Regions from separate parts of the Homo sapiens genome. Here region 1 is linked to region 2. The links are contacts of gene promoters, found by promoter capture Hi-C in human tissues and cell types (Jung and others, 2019). All regions are on one chromosome and are shown on one strand. The core of a region is centred on a gene start or on the middle of the fragment in contact, and the rest is flanking DNA. Distances in the headings are between cores, read along the strand shown.

What was found. The method cuts DNA at HindIII sites, captures the fragments that hold promoters and counts their contacts. A contact is called where the count stands out against the background at its distance.
Region 1: a fragment that was not itself captured here is called in contact with the fragment with the promoter of RD3 in region 2 in 3 of the 25 tissues and cell types used here (bladder, spleen and thymus).

Annotation. Positions count from the first base shown.
Region 1 is chr1:211,452,880-211,457,215 of GRCh38, reverse strand. No RefSeq gene overlaps it. Among named protein-coding and RNA genes, the nearest start is that of RD3, 37 kb to the left of the region's middle. The HindIII fragment of the contact is 3,093 bases long and covers 1,014-4,106 here.
Region 2 is chr1:211,489,267-211,493,504 of GRCh38, reverse strand. It overlaps RD3 (RD3 regulator of GUCY2D), which reads left to right and starts at 1,343. Exons shown (of 3, transcript NM_001164688.2): 1 at 1,343-1,737. The HindIII fragment of the contact is 12,360 bases long and covers 1-4,238 here.

The DNA.
Region 1 (4,336 bases), core at 1,311-3,810, 38 kb after region 2:
TTACGTTTATTGATTTATGTATGTTCAACCAGCCTTGCATCCCAGGGATGAAGCCCACTTGATCATGGTGGATAAGCTTTTTGATGTGCTGCTGGATTCAGCTTGCCAGTATTTTATTGAGGATTTTTGCGTCAATGTTCATCAGGGATGTTGGTCCAAAATTCTCTTTTTTGTGTGTGTCTCTGTCAGGCTTTGGTATCAGGATGATGCTGGCCTCATAAAATGAGTTAGGGAGGATTCCCTCTTTTTCTATTGATTGGAGAAGTTTCAGAAGGAATAGTACCAGCTCCTCCTTGTACCTCTGTAAGAATTCAACTGTGACTCCATCTTGGTTGGTAGGCTATTAATTAGTGCCTCAATTTCAGAGCCTGTTATTGGTGTATTGAGGGATTCAACTTCTTCCTGGTTTAGTCTTGGGTGAGTGTATGTGTCCAGGAATTTATCCATTTCTTCTAGATTTTCTAGTTTATTTGCATAGAGGTGTTTATAGTATTCTCTGGTGGTAGTTTGTATTTCTGTGGGATTGGTGGTGATATCCCATTTATCATTTTTTATTGCATCTATTTGATTCTTCTCTCTTTTCTTCTTTATTAGTCTTGCTAGCGGTCTATCAGTTTTGTTGATCTTTTCAAAAAACCAGCTCCTGGATTCATTGATTTTTTGAAGGGTTTTTTGTGTCTCTATTTCCTTCAGTTCTGCTCTGATCTTAGTTATTTCTTGCCTTCTGCTAGCTTTTGAATGTGTTTGCTCTTGCTTCTCTCGTCCTTTTAATTGTGATGTTAGGGTATCAATTTTAGATCTTTCCTGCTTTCTCTTGTGGGCATTTAGTGCTATAAATTTCCCTCTACACACTGCTTTAAATGTGTCCCAGAGATTCTGATATGTTGTGTCTTTGGTCTCATTGGATTCAAAGAACATCTTTATTTCTGCCTTCATTTCGTTATGTACCCAGTAGTCATTCAGGAGCAGCTTGTTCAGTTTCCATGTAGTTGAGCAGTTTTGAGTGAGTTTCTTAATCCTGAGTTCTAGTTTGATTGCACTGTGGTCTGAGAGACAGTTTGTTATAATTTCTGTTCTTTTACATTTGCTGAGGAGCACTTTACTTCCAACTATGTGGTCAGTTTTGGAATAAGTGTGATGTGGTGCTGAGAAGAATGCATATTCTGTTGATTTGGGGTGGAGAGTTCTGTAGATGTCTATTAGGTCTGCTTGGTGCAGAGTTGAGTTCAATTCCTGGGTATCCTTGTTAACTTTCTGTCTCACTGATCTGTCTAATGTTGACTGTGGGGTGTTAAAGTCTACCATTATTATTGTGTGGGAGTCTAAGTCTCTTTGTATGTCTCTAAGGACCTGCTTCATGAATCTGGGGGCTCCTGTATTGGGTGCATGTATATTTAGGATAGTTAGCTCTTCTTGTTGAATTGAGCCCTTTACCATTATGTAATGGCCTCCTTTGTCTCTTTTGATCTTTGTTGGTTTAAAGTCTGTTTTATCAGAGACTAGGATTGCAACCCCTGCCTTTTTTTGTTTTCCATTTCCTTAGTAGATCTTCCTCCATCCCTTTATTTTGAGCCTGTATGTGTCTCTGCACGTGAGATGGGTCTCCTGAATACAGCACACTGATGGGTCTTGACTCTATCCAATTTGCCAGTCTGTGTCTTTTAATTGGAGCATTTAGCCCATTTACATTTAAGGTTAATATTGTTATGTGTGAATTTGATCCTATCAGTATGATGTTAGCTGGTTATTTTGCTTGTTAGTTGATGCAGTTTCTTCCTAGCATCAATGGTCTTTACAATTTGGCATGTTTTTGCAGTGGCTGGTACTGGTTGTTCCTTTCCATGTTTAGTGCTTCCTTCAGGAGCTCTTGTAGGGCAGGCCTGGTGGTGACAAAATCTCTCAGCATTTGTTTGTCTGTAAATGATTTTATTTCTCCTTCACTTATGAAGCTTAGTTTGGCTGGATACGAAATTCTGGGTTGAAAATTCTTTCCTTTAAGAATGTTGAATATTGGCCCCCACTCTCTTCTTGCTTGTAGAGTTTTTGCCAAGAGATCTGCTGTTAGTCTGATGGGCTTCCCTTTGTGGGTAACCCAACCTTTCCCTCTGGCTGCCCTTAACATTTTTTCCTTCATTTCAACTTTGGTGAATCTGACAATTATGTGTCTTGGAGTTGCTTTTCTCGAAGAGTATCTTTGTGGTGTTCTCTGTATTTCCTGAATTTGAATGTTGGCCTGCCTTGCTAGATTGGGGAAGTTCTCCTGGATAATATCCTGCAGAGTGTTTTCCAACTTGGTTCCATTCATCCCATCACTTTCAGGTACACCAATCAGATGTAGATTTGGTCTTTTCACATAGTCCCATATTTCTTGGAGGCTTTGTTCGTTTCTTTGTATCCTTTTTTCTCTAAACTTCTCTTCTTGCTTCGTTTCACTCATTTGATCTTCAATCACTGATACCCTTTCTTCCAGTTGATCAAATCGGCTACTGAAGCTTGTGCATTCGTCACGTAGTTCTCGTGCCATATTTTTCAGCTCCATCAGGTCATTTAAGGACTTCTCTACATTGGTTATTCTAGTTAGCCATTCGTCTAATCTTTTTTCAAGGTTTTTATGTTCTTTGCGATGGGTTCAAACTTCCTCCTTTAGCTCAGAGAAGTTTGATCTTCTGAAGCCTTCTTCTCTCAACTCGTCAAAGTCATTCTCCATCCAGCTTTGTTCCATTGCTGGCGAGGAGCTGCATTCCTTTGGAGGGAGAGAAGCACTCTGATTTTTAGAATTTTCAGCTTTTCTGCTCTGTTTTTTCCCCGTCTTTGTGGTTTTTATCTACCTTTGGTCTTTTGGTGACTTACAGATGGGGTTTTGGTGTGGATGTCCTTTCTGTTTGTTAGTTTTCCTTCTAACAGTCAGGACCCTCAGCTGCAGGTCTGTTGGAGTTTGCTGGAGGTCCACTCCAGACCCTGTTTGCCTGGGTATCAGCAGCGGAGGCTGCAGAACAGCGAATGTTGCTGAACAGCAAATGTTGCTGCCTGATCATTCCTCTGGAAGCTTTGTCTCTGAGGGGTACCCAGCTGTGTGAGGTGTCACTCTGCCCCTACTGGAGGGTGCCTCCCAGTTGGGCTACTCTGGGGTCAGGGACCCACTTGAGGGGGCAGTCTGTCTTTTCTCAGATCTCAAACTCCGTGCTGGGAGAGCCACTACTCACTTCAAAGCTGTCAGACAGGGACATTTAAGTCTGCAGAGGTTTCTGCTGCCTTTTGTTTGGCTATGCCCTGCCCTCAGAGGTGCAGTCTATAGAGGCAGGCAGGCCTCCTTGAGCTGTGGTGGGCCTCACCCAGTTCCAGCTTCCTGGCCGCTTTGTTTACCTACTCAAGCCTCAGCAATGGCGGGCGCCCCTCCCCCAGCCTCACTGTGGCCTTGCAGTTCAATCTCAGACTGCTGTGCCAGCAATGAGTGAGGCTCCATGGGCATAGGACCCTCTGAGCCAGGTGTGGGATATAATCTCCTGGTGTGCAGTTTGCTAAGACCATTGGAAAAGCACAATATTAGGGTGGGAGTGACCTGATTTTCCAGGTGCCATCCATCGCCACTTCCCTTGGCTAGGAAAGGGAATTCCCTGACCCCTTGTGCTTTGACCTGACCGAGCATGCTTTGGTTCATGCTCAGTGGGCTGCACCGACTGTCCTGCCCCCACTGTCTGACAAGCCCCAGTGAGATGAACCTGGTACCTCAGTTGGAAATGCAGAAATCACCCGTCTTCTGCGTCACTCACACTGGGAGCTGTAGACTGGAGCTGTTCCTATTCAGCCATCTTGGAACCCACCCGATTTTCTTACTTATTATTGGTCTGTTCAGGTTTTGGATTTCTTCCTGGTTCAATCTTGGTAGGTTGTATTTGTCTAGGAATTTGTCTCTGTCTTCTAGATTTTCCAATTTATTGCCATTTGGTTATTCATAGTAAGTCATTAATGATCTTTTGAATTTTTGCAATATCAGTTGTAATGTCTCCTTTTTTGTTTCTGATTTTATTTGTATCTTCTCTGCTTTCTTCTTAGGTAATCTGGTTAAAGGTTTGTCAATTTGGTTTAACTTTTCTTTTTTTTTTTTCCTGAGACTAAGTCTCGATCTCGGCTCACTGCAACTTCCGCTTCCTGGGTTCAAACGATTCTCCTGCCTCAGCCTCCTGAGTAGCTGGGATTACAGGCACCTGACACCATGCCCAGCTAGTTTTTTTTGTATTTTTAGTAGAGACAGGGTTTCACCATGTTGGCCAGGCTGGTCTCAAACTCCTGACCTCAGGTGATCCACCCGCCTCGGTCTCTCAAAGTACTGGGATTA
Region 2 (4,238 bases), core at 94-2,593:
TCATCCCCCTGCTCCCTTCCCTACAGTGTGGAAATGCCTGGGAATTTCTGCCCTTGGACCTCCAAGCCACGCCCCTTGGGAAAGTGCCAGGATAGTGGTGGGGTGCTCAGAGGTGGGGACTCCCAGTTACCTGCTTTGGGTGACTCTGGCCTTAGCTGGCCCTGAGGTGGAGGCCGCCTGGGAACTGTGGGTCAGAGGAAGTCAGCTTCAGCTCCCTCAAATGTGGGGATCTTCCATCCCCAAGTGACCCACTCAATCTTTGGGGCTGTCGTGCTGTGAACTGGTCAAGAGAAGTATATGATCCAACTCCTGACTCAAGAATCTTGCCTGCTTGATGGATGAAGAGGGAAGGCGGATGGAACCAGCTGAGTGGAACCAGCCACAGAGCAAGCACGAAGTGACAAATCACCCAGGGACGAAATCATGCAGGCAGGCAGGTGGGCAACCTGAGTCCATTTCATCAGCCATTGTTTAATTTATTCTTGGTTGTACTTTCTGCTTTATTTCCAACACAATCAAAACCAGATGTGTGCAAAAGTCACGCTATCACCCAGCACAGGATTACCTAAGATCTATTATAATGCAGCTTCATGCCCATTACAGTATTCCCATGCCCCTCACAGGGCAGTGTGCATCTGTTTTAGTGCTACCTAATGTCTGTTAGGTGCAAGCTGGCCCACACATGGCTTCTAGGCAGAACAGTCTACAAGTGACAGCGTGACCAGAGAGCAGAGACAGGAAGGAGGCCCAGACATGAGTGTGGGATGCTGCAGAACAGCAACAGGATGCTTCTGCTATCCCCAAATGTTATCTCAAATACCTCAACGTCAATGCTTTCTGTTCCATGTTCCTCTTCTCCCTGGACAGCCCCTCCTTCTGAAAGTCAGAACTGTCTGCTCTTGAGCTTGCCTTGAGGGAAGGAAATAATTTAGATAAGCAGAGAGGAAGACAGGCAAGGGATGTGGTGGGGCAAAGGCGGAGATGTATCTTCACAGGTCCCTGTCCTCAGCACCCAGAATCACCCCTTCCCTGTAGGAGGGAGCTGATAGAAAGAGGGGATCTCCATCCAGGAGCCACCCACCAGGCAGCTGGAAACATTTGCCAACAGCAGGTACACCTAGGGCTCAGCAGAGGGTTGGGTGAGAATGGTCTTGCCCAGTTTGTGCCACACTGAGCACCGGCTGGAGGAGGAAGCGGACAGAATGCCATCTGGACACAAGTGCTCCCTCACTGCCTGGGCCTGGGTCGCCTCAGGCTTTTGTGTCAGATCAGCCACTCCCTCTACAGATAATGCTGCTCCAGGCAAAGAGGCTTAGGTGGGTCTCCAGGGCAACCGCAGCTCAGGAGCTGGCCCGCCTCCATGGTTCATCAGGGAAGCTGTGGCTCCAGCCTCGCGGGATACATACACGCATACACACACACACACACACACACACACACACACACACACACACACCTACACACCCCACAAACAATAGTCCAGGCTGGATCTCTCCTCCTGTCTCTTCTCTTGGTAAAACTTCTCAGAGAACCAAAGAGAGGCAAAATTTGAGGCCAGCCGGCAGCAGCAGAGAAGCTGAGGGAGACTTGAGGATGTAGACTGCCCTGCCCTGCTGTGGCTGCTCAACTTTCTTTTTTTTTCCTGAAAATATCCAGACACTCTCTTCTCCCAGACTGGGAAGCAGAACGCAGGCCCCCTGCTGTGACGCTGCACCTGAGCAGAGGCTGACCTCAGAGGTAAGATGGAGGTCTCCCCAGGAGACAGTGTCTTCCCCACCCGCACCCTGGCACAGCTGCACCTTTGGAAGTTAGGGCTGAGGCTTGAAGCTGGGTGGGGTGGCCTCAAGGGGTGTGGCAGGCTGGGGAGCCTAGAAAGCCGCCCACCTCCGGGACCCAGATGGCCACAGGAAGGCCCCTTTAGTCCTCATCAGTTCCACAGGAGTTGGAACCGATGAGGGTCCTGCAGCTTCCTCGGGGCTATAGCCTGCTCCTTGTTTTGTAAACCTGTGGGAAGCCATTGTTTTTGCCTGTTCTGGAACTGCAAGCCTCTCGGGGAGGACCCAGCTCCAGCAGGTTCCTTTCTGCCTTTATAGAGTGGACACAGGCAGGGGGAAGGAAAGCGAAACCCAAATCAGAGACTCTTGCATGGGTTTGCGAACTGTGATTCGAGCATCTACTAAGTCCAAGGCACAGAGTCAGGCTCTGGGGATGCAGCAGCACCCAGGGCACGAGGGTGATGGATGTGCCTCAGTCCCCTCGAACATGGAGCAGTCTGTGCATCCCTGATAACATGCCCAGGAGAGTGGGCCCAGGCAGATGGGTGCAGGGTGGGGCGCCAGGGAGATCGGGCCTAGAAGGAAAGTCCAGCTGCGACCAAGGGATGAGGGTCAGTCCCCTCCCACTGTGGTCAGTCAGACCTGTGTACACGCCCTCTCCTGGCTGCACCTCTGCCTCAGAATGGGAAGGACTGGCTGCCATTCACTCATTCATTCAGGAACCGCTTATCAAGTGCTACCATGTGCAGCAGATTCAACCCACATTCCTCTCGCCCTTGCAGAATTCATAGCTAGGTGGGGAAGAGATAAATACAACCCAAAGCGTGAGAAACGTGTTTGCTAGATGCCATGGTGATGGGCCCTTGTGTCAGGCCCTGGTGGCTGGGATCAGTGCTCCATGGGTGGGGGGAAGTGAGGGGCCGGCTGCAGGGAGGAGTTGTCTCTTGAGGGGTTCCCGACAAATGAGCAGATGTCTGTCAGGTGGGCAGAGGATCCACAGGTCAGGCCCGCTCATATCTGGCTTGGTGGATTATAGGTTGTTTTTCTGTGATGCCAAAGAGAAATAAGGTCAATTTGCAATCTGTAAAGTTGGACTTGGGCCTTATCAAACACAGAGCTGGGAGGCAGATTAGCCAGAGAAGCACCTACTCTCTGCCCCCACTGAGAAGTCTCTGCCCAGACTGAGCGTCTGGCGTCAGCAGAGCCAGCCTGCCCCTGCAGTGAAGCTGCCAGTGCTCTGGGACAGCCTGACTCAGGTGCTGCTCTATGCCTGGGTCCGGCGGGTCACACAGGGCAGCCCCTCACCCTGGCCTGCAGATGCCTAGCTCAGCTTCAGAGGTGGAGGACCCGGGCCGGGTTCCCTGGCCATGGCTCCCTTTGCACTGAGAAATTGGCCTTCCTGGGCAAGGTCTGCACGCCCTCACTGTTTGGCTGGGGCCGGCGCAGGGCCTCAGTTCTCACTAGAGGTGAGGGCACTCTCATCCCTCCTGCAGGGGGTCAGAGCCCTGCTTCCAGCTCCAAGGTCACACTCCCCATTGTTCCCACCATTGAGACATCCCTGGTCCCCCTCTGAGTGCCAAGTGGAACCAGAGACTCCTCTTGCCCTTGAGGCACAACGCGAGAGTTTTTCCAGCACAGCTAACGAGCCACAGCTGGTAGTGGCGCCTCCCAGGAGCCACAGAAAAGACATTATCCTCAGGGATGTTCAAAAATAGGCTGAAAGGAAGGCTCTGAGAGTGTGGGGGTGGAAGGGGTAATGAAGGAGAAAGGAAAGAGGAAAGAGAAGATCAGAGAATGGAAGATAACGGGCGTGGGTGAGTGACACCAAAAGGCAGAGACAGAACGTGCGAGGGCTTCCCCATCATCCACTCTGCTCTGTAAACCTGAGGCCTCACCACCTGGGCCTTCTCTTGAAACAGGGAGGCTCAGCTCTCCCAACACGGTGACCAGAAGCCAGGGCTGGGGAAGGCCAGGAACAAAGTTGGGGTCAAGCTTGCACCAAGCCAGGGGATCCTTTATTTTTGTGCCCCCTTTGGGAGTCTGTGAAGCCTGTGGACACGTTCCTAGAAAAATGCTTCTAAATGCATAAAAGTAAATTCACTGGGGTACAAAGGAAACAAGCTCTATTGAAATGCAGCTATCAAAAAAAAAAAAAAGAAAGAAAAAATGATTTATGATATAATAATATGTGTGCTTCCCTATCAACATGTGAAATAATAAAACCTAGTAGCAAGTCTAATAAATGCCACAATTTCATAGTAGTGATGAGCATACCAGATAATTCAAGAATAACAACTTTAAAGCATTTTGTGAAAAATCTGTGGTTTCTGCTGGAGATAAAGCCATGGGGCTACTGATATTACTGTGGTCTATGACCCTCATTCATAACTAAAGAAATACCACATTTCAGTTAAAGGTTAGTGGAAATAAAGATGACTTTTTTCCCCACCCAAGTTCATAAAT